Linked DNA regions of Homo sapiens: all the other regions are linked to region 2. Evidence: promoter capture Hi-C in human tissues and cell types (Jung and others, 2019). All regions are on one chromosome and are shown on one strand. The core of a region is centred on a gene start or on the middle of the fragment in contact, and the rest is flanking DNA. Distances in the headings are between cores, read along the strand shown.

The links. The method cuts DNA at HindIII sites, captures the fragments that hold promoters and counts their contacts. A contact is called where the count stands out against the background at its distance.
Region 1: a fragment that was not itself captured here is called in contact with the fragment with the promoter of SYN3 in region 2 in 1 of the 25 tissues and cell types used here (mesendoderm cells).
Region 3: a contact is called between a fragment that was not itself captured here and the fragment with the promoter of SYN3 in region 2, in 2 of the 25 tissues and cell types used here (dorsolateral prefrontal cortex and mesendoderm cells).

Annotation. Positions count from the first base shown.
Region 1 is chr22:32,543,447-32,547,727 of GRCh38, reverse strand. The region is part of intron 7 of SYN3 (synapsin III); the gene reads left to right. It overlaps LOC124905103 (a long non-coding RNA gene), which reads right to left. Exons shown (of 3, transcript XR_007068067.1): 3 at 1-1,612. Among named protein-coding and RNA genes, the nearest start is that of SYN3-AS1, 29 kb to the left of the region's middle. The HindIII fragment of the contact is 3,664 bases long and covers 163-3,826 here.
Region 2 is chr22:33,056,860-33,061,417 of GRCh38, reverse strand. SYN3 (synapsin III) reads left to right here and starts at 3,037. Exons shown (of 14, transcript NM_003490.4): 1 at 3,037-3,126. The HindIII fragment of the contact is 13,516 bases long and covers 1-4,558 here.
Region 3 is chr22:32,405,522-32,410,029 of GRCh38, reverse strand. RTCB (RNA 2',3'-cyclic phosphate and 5'-OH ligase) reads left to right here. Exons shown (of 12, transcript NM_014306.5): 2 at 1,197-1,275; 3 at 1,788-1,855; 4 at 3,269-3,368. Among named protein-coding and RNA genes, the nearest start is that of RTCB, 4.5 kb to the left of the region's middle. The HindIII fragment of the contact is 5,840 bases long and covers 1-4,508 here.

The DNA of each region.
Region 1 (4,281 bases), core at 745-3,244, 510 kb after region 2:
AAACCCATTCAGAAGATTTGGAATTGCATCCTGACTCCTCTCTCCACTTTCTCTGCCTCTGTTTCCACTCTCCCTCCTTGCTCAGCCTCAGGACAGAGCACACATGCATGCATGCACACTCACATACACACATGTGTGCACACAAGCACACAAGAGGGTAAAGCAATTCAGAAAGCAAGAGAGGAGAAGAGTGTGAGAACCTGAATGGGGAGACCATGAGGGGAAGGAGGCAGGAAAGACAGAGAGGAAGGAATGAAGAAGAAATGAGAAGGAGAAGAAGAATGGCAACATTGAAAAGAGGTCAGGAAAACTGAAGGAGACAGAGAAGGAGGTGGAAGGGAGAGGCTGGAGAAAGATAAGAGAAGAAGTAAGCAACAAGGAAAAATCAAGGAGGAAAGAGGTGCAAGAGGGAAACAGATGGCATTAAAAGCAAAAGGAAGAGTGGCCGGGCATGGTGACTCATGCCTGTAATCCCAGCACTTTGGGAGGCCAAGGTGGGAGGATCGCCTGAACCTACGTGTTCAAGACCAGCCTGGGCAACATGGGGAAATTTCATTTCTACAAAAAATACGACAAAGAAAAAACAGCCAGGCGTGATGTCATGCGCCGGTAGTCCCAGCCACTCAAGAGGCTAAGGTGGAGGATTGCTTGAACCTGGGAGGCAGAGGTTGCAGTGAGCCCTGACTGTGCCACTGCGCTCCAGCTTAGGCGACAGAGAGAGACTCTGTCTCAACATCAACAAAAAAACAAAACAGAGTAAGAGAGAAGGCAAGGAGTGTTAGAGGAAAGGGGAGAAAAGGGAGGGAGGAGAGAGTGAGAAGGCAAGGACGCAAGAGAAAGGAGAGAGAGAAGGAGAGAGGAGATAAGAGAAGGGAGAAGAGGGGCGAGGGAGGCAAGGGTGTGGGTGGGTCTGTTTTGGAGAGTTCACAGTGGCCCCATCATAGCCCCTGGGGCAGCAAATGGGTAATCTTGAATCACAGCTCATTGAGGGCTTCCTGTTTTCAGCTTGTCTTTGTGAACCCTTGGAGGGATTTCCAGCCAGTAAATAAAGCGGAGTGCCAAGACTCCCTGCCCAGGCTAGCAGCCATTTCACCATCCTCAGGGCTGTGTCCCCAGTGCCCTCTCACCCCAACTACCCTCTCTGGCCTGAGGACCATCCCAGAGTCCCCTCCAGCACCCACCCACCGAGGCTCCAGACCACCTCCCCTCTTCGCCAGAATCCTGGAATTCTTCCGGTTCTCAAGAACTTGTGAGGCAGGCAGTAACCCTCAGAGAGCGTAGCACCTACCCAAGAATGCATGGAAATATCCACCTTATAAAAGACAAGTTTCCTTGAAACAGTTTCTTTGCCTTTTTTTGGAACTCTCTTGTTTTTCCTTCTAGTTTCTTGCCCCCCTCCCAAATTATAAGCAGGTCTTGATCCAACCTTCTTAAATTCAATCCAGCAAACTTGTGTAGAGCATGTACAATCTGCTTGGCACCAGTGCAACAGCTGGGGACAACACTCGTCTGTCCTCAAGAAGCTCACAGTCTAATGGGGAGACAGAAATGGTGGTTCCAGGGGTAGAATCCGTTTTTTATTGCCCAGGTGTCATACAATGTGGGAGACCCTCTGTAAAGAAAAAGAACATAAAATCAGCTGGATGTGGTGACGCCTGTAGTCCCAACTACTCAAGTGGCAGAGGTGGGAGGAATGCTTGAGCCCAGAAGTTCAAGGCTGCAGTGAGTCATGATTGCACAACTGCACTCCAGCCTGGGTGACAGAGTGAGACCCTGTCTCTTTAAAAAAATAAATAAATAGAAATAGAAAATAAAATAAAAAGGAACATTTGGCCAGGGCCTCTCCTGAAGCTTTGAAATGCCTGTGTATAAGATACCCGGGCTCACGCCTGTAATCCCAACATTTTAGGAGGCTGAGGTGGGTGGATCACTTGAGGTCAGGAGTTCAAGACCAGCCTGGCCAATATGGTGAAACCACGTCTCTACTAAAAATACAAAAATTAGCCAGCCATGGTGGCACGCACCTGTAGTCCCAGCTACTTGAGAGGCTGAAGCAAGAGAATCGCTTGAATCCAGGAGGCAGAGGTTGTAGTGAGCCAAGATTGCACCATTGCACTCCAGCCTGGGCAACAGAGTAAGTGAGACTGTCTCAAAAAAAAAGAGAGAGAGAGAGAGAGACCTGGGTTCCATGCTCACTGTTGGTGACAACAGAATGGGACCCCAGTGCACAACCACTCAAACGAAGACAGAAGAGAAGGGTTCCCAGAGGGCGCCTGCCCACTCCTGCATTAAACCACTATGTCTGTGCTTTCTCCCTTTGCTCTCTTTGTCTACTCTGTGAAAGAATGCATGATGTATTCCACAAAAATTTACTTAGGGCTTGTATAATAATTGGGATAAATTTCAGCTGCCATAACAAAGACTTACAAAGGCATAAACAAACTAGGACTTTCTTTCTCTGCTCTGCACAAAAGCAGCCCAGGGCTGGCCTGGAACTACCATGGTTTCATGACCATGGACTTCTTCCATCTTACTGATCATCCATGCCTGGTGTGTTGCCCTCAGCTACACTGTCAAAGATGGTCCACACTCCAGCCAGCAAGGGGAGAGAAGCGAGGAGTACAAAGCCCTCCCCTGCCCTTTAACGGCACAGCCTGGAAGTTCATACACCTCTTCCGCTCACATCTTGTTGGCCAAAATGTGGCCACACAGCGGTATGAAGATGCCAGGGAGAGGAGAGAGTGTAAAGTGTACCCTGGATGGACACATGCCCCCCATATCAGGGTGCATCATGACTGTAAAGCAGGAAAATGATGCTGTGGACAGCTAGACACTTCCGAGGTAGCCCACTCTGTGCTCAGGGCTGTCTAGGAAACCAAGGTGCCAAAGAAATTCTGGTTCTTTCCAAGGCCACCAAGGACAGAAATGTGAGTTAAACAAGCCGTCCCTGCAAACGCTCACCCGATTCTTTCATTTTGGCAATTCCGATTCTCTCCACCTGACCCTGAATACTGGCTGAGATGAAACCCCAGGATAATCAAAGGGGCATTGGAAGAAGAGGTGGCAACATAGACTGTGAAGAAGTTGCCAGAAAGAAGGGTGAGAACTGGGAAAACAGTGGTACAGAAATCATATTTCCCAAAGTTCACTAATTTCAGGTGCTACAGAGGGTCAACGCAGGGCAAGGACCAGAGGCATTCTATGGGATTTGCCAAAGAGTGGACTAAAAGGGACCTTGGCCAAATCAGTCTCAGGAGAATGGTAGGGAGTAAAACCTAAAGAAAGTGGGTTGAGGGGCAAGTGGGGAATGAAGATGTAGAGATAGACAGTGGTGCGTAACTGAGGTTCTGAAAAGCAGGAACATGTTGAGGAGAATGGTGGATCCTTGATCACGTTAATCCAAAGAATAAAGAATCAATGAAAAGCAAGAGAGTAAAAATAATGAGCAGAAATGTCATTTGGCTGCTTTAACAAAGACCCACATAATAGGGGCCAGGCGCAGTGGCTCGAGTGTGTAATCCCAGCACTTTGGAAGGCCGAGGCGGAAAGATCGCTTGAACCAAGGAGTTTGAGACCAGCCTGGTCAACATAGTGAGGCCCTGTCTCTACAAATAATCAAAAACTAGCCGGGCATGGTGGTGCACGCCTGTAGTCCCGGCTACTCGGCCGGCTGAGGCAGGAGAATTGCTTGAGCTCAGGAAGTCAAGGCTGCAGTGAGCCATGATCATGCCACAGCACTCAGCTTGAGTAACATATTGAGACCCTGTCTCAGAAAGGGAGCTTCACAGTGCTAGTGACCCAGGTCCTTCCATCTTTCTACTCAGCCATCCTCAACATGCAGCTTCCATCTCATGGCCCAAGATGGAGGCTGCTGCTCATACCATCATGTTCACATTCCCTGCCAGAGCAAAGAAGGAAAAAGGACGGGGAAGATTATTTTCATCTTCAGGGCACCACCCAGAGGTTGCTAATATCACGGCTACCCAGGTTTCACCGGCCAGAGCTTGGAGACTCAGGCACATCTACCCGCACGACAGACTGGAGCAAAGTAATCTCTGGCTGAGGAGGCCAGGTACCCAGCTAAAACCAAGGGCTTAGAAGGCCCAGAACAAAGGAAGGAGGCACACCACCGCCACTGCAGCTGGGAGGAAGAAGTGGGGTAGCTGAGTTTGAAAAGGGCTGGAAAATAGGGAACTCTTGCCTGGTCACCTTTATTTTCTCTGCAAATTGAGACCTGGAGTCATCACTCAGAGAGCCAAGAAGAGAGATGGCTTTTCCAGC
Region 2 (4,558 bases), core at 1,788-4,287:
GTTTCCCCAAGCAACATTCCTGTGCATATTTGAAAACCAGTAGTTAAGAAAAATTATGATGATGTTACAGCTCCAAAGGTTACAGTTGGGAGGAGTTTTGGAGGAGCTGTGCTCTAGCCTGAGGGAAACTGAGGCTTAGAAGATATATGTCAGGTAGATGGAGGTAGGGGCGGGCCAAATGCCATTAAAGACTATGCTGGGTTTTTCATTTGGGATTTCCTTGATCCTTTTATTTCCCATTATTGTTCTCATCCAATCTGGACAGACACTATGAGGGTTTCTTTAAAAGGTTGGAGGTATTGTCTAATCCAGAGGTGGAAATAGTCCCTAAGGGGATAAATCCAGCCCATACATGGGTTTGATCTTGTCCAACAGTCTTGGCCAATACAGTCTTTTAAAAAGTTTTAGTTAATTGGCTGGGTGCAGTGGCTCACGCCTGCAATCCCAGCACTTTGGGAGGCCAAGGCGGGCGGATCATGAGGTCAGGAGATCGAGACCCTCTTGGCTAACGCGGTGAAACCCCATCTGTACTAAAAATACAAAAAATTAGCTGGACGTGGTGGCGGGCGCCTGTAGTCCCAGCTACCTGGGAGGCTGAGGAAGGAGAATGGCGTGAACCCGGAAGGCAGAGCTTGCAGTGAGCCGAGATTGCACCACTGCAATCTCGACAATCCACTGCAATCCAGCCTGGGCGACAGAGCGAGACTCCGTCTCAGAAAAAAAAAAAAAAAAAGTTGTAGTTAATTACCAGCATTTAAAAAAACCAGAGATTTAACATAATCTGAATTTCTGGCCTCTTAATAAAAATCAGGGTCTGGTGTGGTGGCTCACGCCTATAATCCCAGCACTTTGGGAGGCCAAGGTGGGCAGATCACGAGGTTAGAAGTTCGAGACCAGTCTGGCCAACATGGTGAAACCCTGTCTCTACTAAAAATACACAAATTAGCCAGACGTGGTGGTGGGCGCCTGTAATTCCAGCTGCTTGGGAGGCAGGAGAATTGCTTGAACCAGGGAGGCGGAGGTTGCGGTGAGCTGAGATCGCACCACTGCACTCTAGCCTGGGTGACAGAGCAGGACTCAGTCTCGATAAAAAACAAACAAACAAAAAACAGAACATCTGGCAACTCTGGGTGGGTCTCCATTCACATATGGCAAAAATCAGTTGGAGCTGAGCAGTGACTGTCACCTTAGGCAGGTGTGCATACCTCAGTCTGTCACAAGCCCCATCCCTCCTTTCTATTATACCCTGCCAACCTCACTTAGTACATGACTACCCGGCCACGTCGGTATTAAAGTTTGTGATCCTTCAGCTAGTCTTATGCCCTCTTAGTTACTGAGGTTAGAGTCACTCCCTCTTAGTTACTGAGATCATGTACTAACGCTCATGCAGTAAGTGGAAGATGCTGGGTAAGAACCTTCCCGATCTTGGAAATAGTACCATTACTCCACAGTGGCTCAAGCTAAACACCTAGGAGATTTTCTTCTTTCATCCCTTTACGTCAACCCCTGTCATAGTCTATTTTGTGCCAATATAACAGAATATCACAGACTGGGTAATTTATAAGGAACAACAATTTATTTAGCTCATGGCTCTGGAGGCTGGGAAGTCCAAGATTGAGGGGCTGCATCTGGTAAGGGCCTTCATGCTGAGTCACCCCATGGCACAAGGCAGAACAAGAGAGCAGCAGAGGGGTGGGGAGAGGGCCACTCCTGGCATTAATGGAATCACCTCTTAAAGGTCCCACCTCTCAACACTGTTGCATTGGGGATTAAGTTTCCAAGATATGAACTTTGGGGAACATATTTAAACCATAGCATCCCCTAAATCCAGCCTAATCCATCATCAAGCCTTCCTGTGCTACTTTTGACACACATTGCAGGAGGTCCACCTTTTCCGTATCTTGCTGTCACCACCCTGGTCTTCATCACCATAATCTCTTGCCTGAATTGTTCCCTCCAGATTGATATGACAAAGCCCTGACCCTCACGGTGGCCTACAAGGTTCTGGGTGATGGTGATTCCACACTAGTCTACCTCTCTGGCTGTAACCCACTCTCCCCTTGCTCACCTCACTCAGCCACCCTGGGGGCCAGTTCCAGCTTCAGAACCATGCATCGGCCGACCCCTCTGTCAGCAATGCTCTTGCTTCAGCCCTGGAATCGTTTTTGTCCTCCAAGTATCCAATATCACAAGCGGCCCGGAGACCACCCTAGGTATAGCAGTCCTAGACCCCTTTCTTTTTCTTTTCTTTTTTTTGGAGACGGCATCTAGCTCTGTTGCCCAGGCTGGAGTGCAGTGGCTCTAACTCGGCTTACTGTAACTTCCACCTCCCGGGTCCAAGCAATTCTGCCTCAGCCTCCCGAGTAGCTAGGACTACAGGTGAGGGCCACCATGCCCAGCTAATTTTTGTATTTTTAGTAGAGACGGGGTTTTATCATCTTGGCCAGGCTGGTCTTGAACTCCCGACCTCGTGATTCACCTGCCTCGGCCTCCCAAAGTGCTGGGATTACAGGCGTGAGCCACAGGCACCCAGCCGACATTCTCTTGTTTTTTTCGTTTGTTGTATATAACCTACCCCCACCTCCACCCCATGCAAAGTCCACGAGGACGATAGACTTTGTCTTGTTCCCTGTTGCATCCTGGCCCTAGGGCCTAGCCCACAACCTGGGACATTTCCTGACAAGGGGCCCTGGTTTCTCTGAGGTGCCACCTGAGGTCCGGGAGGTCAGCTGACTTTCCCAAAGGTGGATTCCAAGGACACTGCATTCTTCGCACTCCCCGAGGGGCGTCTAGACACTCCTGGGACCCAGAATTATTAGCTAACTGGGCTCCTGAGTCCGGTGAGAGCTCAGAGTCTAGAAGCAACTTTCCCTGCCTGGAGAGGTGAACCCAGCAAGGCGTTGGGGAGAGGCGTGGGCGAGGGAGTGGGCGCGGGTGGGCGGGGCCGTCCGGGGGCCTCGTTGCCCGAGCCAATGGGGCGCCGCGGCGCGGGGAGGCCGGGCCGCCGGGCGGGGGCGCTCGCGCGCGTTGAGGGGCAGAGGCTGAGCTCCCGGGACCCGGAGCGGATCGACTGGCGGGCGCCGCGCCGAGGCACCACCGGGCGCCGAGTTCCTGGCGGCTCGCACGGTAAGCGGCGCGGCGCCGCAAAGTAGACTTTGTGGGGTTTCTGACAGCCGGGAGACCCCACCTCGAGCGGGGGCTGCTGGTGCGTTCTCGCGTCGGGCTGCGTCCCCTGGAGCTCCGGCTCTGTGTCCGCGGGATGCGGGCGCACGGAGGGGCAGGGAGGGAGGCAAGGAGCCGCGCACCACGGTGTCTCCCCAGGCTGCCGCTGCCGGGGCCCTGGGCCGGTCCCTGGGACAGACAGATCGGCGTGCGGGGGCCGTCTGCCGGGCCCGGGAGCCGGGGGCGCGCAAGACTGTGGATCCTAAGACTGCCTCCACCCAGCGCCCGGCCCGGGGAAGAGCTTGCGGGAAACCAGGAACCGCAGCGGCCGGACCTCTGCTCTGCGCCGGCTCCTAGGACCTGCCTTAGGTCCCCAGACCCCTCATGACCTGTTGCCTTGGGTTTGGGAGGTCAGGTTTGTCATGCCATTTCCGATTTCCAGTCATCCTGGGGGCAGGATGAAATTTCAGAGTGGTTTCCTGGCCAAGCTAGAAGCAGAGAATAGCTATGGATACAGCACCTCGTGTATCTATCCAGCACTTACTTGGCTTTTTCTGAGTGCCAGGAACTGTGCCAAGCCCTAGCAGCATGAAGAATGGCCTTTGGGGAGCTTCTGGGGCTAAGAGGGACAGTAGGAGGAGCAATTGCAGTGCAGGGTAGTGCGGAAGACTCGAGATGGAGAAGAGGACGGTGAGGAAGCCAGGAAGGTTTCAGAGAGGAGGTGAGCATTGACTGGAAGTCGGAGGTTTTGCCAGGCTGAAAAGTGTGTTGGGACTGTGAGTTGATAGGGAGCAGGAATTCCAGGTGGGTTTTCTTGTGTAAAGGTAAAGAAACTGAAAAGGTCCGGTGTCCTGACCTAGCACATCAGATAATTCTACAGCAGATAATGGAGTAGGACCGGGTCTTGCTGTAGGTAGGAAATGAGCTCTCGACATGGCAGGAAGCTAAAACCTGCACAGACCTTAAAGTGCAGCCTTAGAATATTTAGAATTTTATCCTGGAATGAAGGAGGGCCGTGGAAGAATTCTGATCAGTGATCAGGTCCCTCTGGCAGCTCTGGGGACAATGGATGGAGGCCGGAGCATCAGAAAGCTGGTAAGTTGTAGTTGTTTTCTGGTCCTTGGCTGCAAATACTCTTCCCTGCTTAAGGGAGCCCCCTCTGCCCGGGAGCCCTGCTCCCTGGCTTCTGGACATGGATTCAGGCAAAGAGATGCTGCCCGTGTAATGCTTGCTTCTGCAGCCTGCACATCATTTTGATATTGTTTCTGGAGCCTGTGACCTCAGTCTTGTCATCAGGCCTCTGAAGGGTGCCTCTGCTCTTCTTTTCTCATCTTCAAGCCCTCTGTGTGCCCTTCCCCTCTGCCTGGGCTCCCCTTTCTGTTTCACAGAGATCCAG
Region 3 (4,508 bases), core at 1,403-3,902, 650 kb after region 2:
CCTGGCTAACACGTGAAACTTCGTCTCTACTAAAAATACAAAAAATTAGCTGGGCGTGGTGGCGGGCACCTGTAGTCCCAGCTACTCGGGAGGCTGAGGCAGGAGAATGGCGTGAACCCAGGAGGCAGAGCTTGCAGTGAGCCGAGATCATGCCACTGCACTCCAGCCTGGGTGACAGAGCAAGACTCAGTCTCAAAAAAAAAAAACAAAAGTATATAAGAGCTGTATTGTGTACTGGGAGCTCCTTGAAAGGAAGATCTTATATTCTTTCTATCTCCCCTAGTGCCCAGGACAGTGCTTCATGCATAGTAAATCCTCAGTTAATGTTTGGTGAATTAATAAATGTGACCCTTAAGAAATTATACTGGAAATATTTTCCATCAGTGGGTATTAAATTGTTATTTATGCAATGGTGATGAAGTCATCTTTCTGATAAAAACTACATTCAATTGATTAAGTGTTAAATCTTTGGTTCTCCATTACTGGACAGCTCTTTCACAATATTTGACCTGTGATAAAAATGTTCTGCTCTTTAGTGTTACATAAGTATGTCGTCCATTGCCTTCTGTGTGCTGCCTCTATTGTCAAGCTTTAAAATTATAGATTTTTTAAAAAATTATATAGCTTTCAGAACTGAGCACACAACTACGTAGCTGCATGTTAAATTTTTCTTCTCACTATTTACCTAACTAGAGATTTGTAAGTCACCACTAGAGCACAATAAAATGTAATTTGCTATTGGCTTAAACACAGAATAAACATACTAGGTTAGATGACTACGTTTTATGTTTAGAATTGGACTTTTTGATTCATTTGGTTTTTTTTTTTAATTTTCAAAAAACCATTGATATTTTTGAAGCTTGAGGATTAAGACCTTTGGGCTTTGTGAGAGTATAGTTGGAAGATTTTTCTTTATCACAAAAAGATGCTGAATCTGTTGAATTCTTAAATGTGGTTTTGAGGGTATGAGAATAAACAAAACAATTTGTGAACATTGCAGAATTTTTCTTAAGGTATATTTTCCGATGGGAGCAGCTCGTAGTCTTTGATAGGAAGTTTTCTGTGTGCTTAAGGTAACGTGAAAGTGTTTGGTAAAGAGTAAAGCACAGTAAATATTGCATACAGTGCATTCTGTCCAGTGCCTACACTTGCCGCGCATGTACTCAGACATTGCTTTTCACTTTCCTTGGTACTAGGTTGAAGGTGTTTTCTATGTGAATGATGCTCTGGAGAAATTGATGTTTGAGGAATTAAGGAATGCCTGTCGAGGTGGTGGTAAGTACATTAGAGTTTCACTTGTGTTAGTACGGTAGTGCCTTCCCTGTGGCCTGAAAAAGTGGCAACTCAAATAATTATAATTCTGAAATATTGTCAAGGAGTGATTACAACTTAAAAGTAAGACCAAAAGCACTTACTTATTTGTGATCACATTGTCAGCCAGTTGGCGTTATAGAACGGATTTGAAGCTCCATCTGGAATTTGAAGCTGGGTAGAACTTGTTTCTCAGCTAACCTTGAACAATAATAGCAAGTGACCTACCATTTGTTTTGCACTTACTATATTCCAGGCATGTTACTAGGTGCTTTGCAGAGATTATCTCATGCAATACTTACAGTGACTCTAAAAGGAGCTCCCTTCCATCTTGCATCTCAAACATCCTTCTAGGCTTTGTTGTCTTAGTAGCCCTAATGACTACCTCTTCACGTTATACAGTCTAAAAACATGAATATAATTCATGCTAAAAATCAAGTGTGTTGTCTTTTCTAATACCCAATTTTTGTCTTCAGGTGTTGGTGGCTTCCTGCCAGCCATGAAACAGATTGGCAATGTGGCAGCCCTGCCTGGAATTGTTCATGTGAGTCAGAGTTCAGAACTTTAATCATTTATATTTCTTAAAGTCCATTGAATGGATGAATGGCCATGCCTGATAGTGGTGTCATTTAGACAATGACCTTTGGACAGCCAGACATAACCATGAAGCCAGGCTCAGTGGCTCATGCCACCCGCAACACTTTGAGAGACCAAGATGGAAGGATTGCATGAGCCCAGGAATTCAAGACTAGTCTGGGCAACATGGCAAGACCCTGTCTATACCAAAAAAATTAGTCAGGTGTGATGTCACATGCTTGTTGTCCCAGCTACTTAGAATGCTAAGTGGGAGGATTGCTTGAGCCCAGAGTTCCACACTGCACTGAGCCATGATCACGCCACTGCACTTTTAGCGTGGATGGCAGAGTGAGACCCTGTCCCTAAAAATAAAAAATAAAAGGAAATAACCATGGACCTAAAGAAATAATTGAATCTGGATGGTATTTCAGTTTCTGAATGCATTTGGCTAGAATCTGTAAGTGTTAAGAACCTTCGAAGTAGTTTTTGTGTTTTGTTTCTTATCATGGTAACATTATTCCTGGATCAGTGCACCACCATTGTAAGTTTCATTGTAAGTTTCACTTCACTGTTTCAATGTAAGTTTCATTGTAAGTTTCGCTTGGTTGTAAGTTTCACTTCCTATGCAGAGGATCATTGAAGAAGAAATGGCAAGAAGTTTAAGGGTTAGCACTGAGGGGGAGGAAGAGAGGACAGCATAGCCCCCACCACAGTTTAACATTCATATTCTATCAGAGGTAGATGTTGAAAATGGATCTATTCGGCAGACATTTTTGAGGTCTTCTTTATGCCAGTTACCATGTTGGGCACTTGGTAGAGGGAATGAAATGGTATGGCTTGTGTATATAAGGAAGTTGTTAGTGTCTGGGTATCTCCATATATCCTGTGTTTGACCTGCATTCTTCCTGGGTCAGGGTCCTTTTCTAGGCTCCACATGTAGGAAGTCTACAGTATTTATACCATCAAATGGATTACATTTGGCTGTGATTACTTAAACTAATGACCTATATAAATCAGTTATTTTCCTCTTCTTAACCTGACAAACCAAAGTTTGTCAGTGTCTTAAGATTATTTTTAAAATGTAATAGTACATTAAACTTAGTATGTGTTACTCCTATATCATGTTATTTTGAGGCTTTTCTGTTTTGTATTTCCTTAATTAACATTCAGATCTTATAAAAAAGTTTTTTTCTCACTGTATTTAGCTTTGTGATTAGGAGTTCTTACTATTTCCATGCATATAGAAGATTTTGTGAAAACACAGTCTTGATTTAGGGAAAGCTTCAGCCTGCAACCTGTTTGAGAATCAGTGTCAGGTCCATCAGGGCATCCAGGGTAGCAGGTCAAGACACTTGTATTTCATTTTCTAATTCTTTTTCAGCGATCTATTGGGCTTCCTGATGTCCATTCAGGATATGGGTTTGCTATTGGGAACATGGCAGCCTTTGATATGAATGACCCTGAAGCAGTAGTATCCCCAGGTAAGATCACTGTGGACATCTGCTGTTAAGTGTGTAGCATTGGCCGGGCACGGTGGCTCACGTCTGTAATCCCAGCACTTTGGGAGGCCGAGGCGGGTGGATCATGAGGTCAAGAGATCAAAACCATCTTGGCCAACATGGTGAAACCGTGTCTCTATTAAAAATAGAAAAATTAGCTGGGGGTGGTGACGCGCACCTGTACTCCCAGCTACTTGGGAGGCTGAGGCAGGAGAATCACTTGAACCCGGGAGGCGGAGGTTGCAGTGAGCCGAGTTCGTGCCACTGTACTCCAGCCTGGTGACAGAGCAAGACCCCATCTCAAAAAAAAATGTGTGTAGCTTCTCTCTATGGACCATAGCCTTTGTGAAACAGAGCACTTCTCTCCATGTGCATGACTCAGTCTCATCATGTTCTGTCATTTTTCTTTGATATTTACTGGAAGTATTGCTTGTGGATACTGAGAGGCTATTACAACTTCAAGCAAAGCATATTTTTATTGAAAATTTTGGGAGGCTCCTACCAAACATCATGGTATTCAGACTTTGGCTACAAAACAAACTGGCAATTTTTTTTTATCTTTGTAAATCAGTTACCTCGTGGACAGATCACGTCTAATAATGTTAATGACCACACAGTATTAGTAGCTTAGATGAGTTCAGCTGTGTAAAATATTTAGAACAGTGCTAAGCAGGTAGAACATATTCAGTAATACTATCATTGTTATTCAATGATAACATTGAATATACAGAAGGTTGCATACGCCTTCTGCTGTGGTTATGGGGTGCTTTCAATAAACATTCTATATCAGAAGTAATATCTTTGCTGTTAAAGAGTGTGAATTTAGAAATGAAGTTTAAATGACATCTTGAGAGTTCTGTTTCTAGCAGTGGTGGACTAGGTTGTTTCAGACCAATCCCCTGCTGAAAATAATTAGAAAGGCTGGGTAAAAAATTTTTTCTTAAATCTGTTTGAAGGCACAGAAAATCTGCTAAGGCAGTAAGAATTTGCGAAGTCAAGATCTAGAGGAAAAGAAGAAAAAGTTCCAGATATGTGAGCCCTACATGTAGGGCTGTTTGGAGGTGACTGCAAATTTCAGTCAGTAAGAATATACATGATTTGAATGATCCAATAACAAACTTG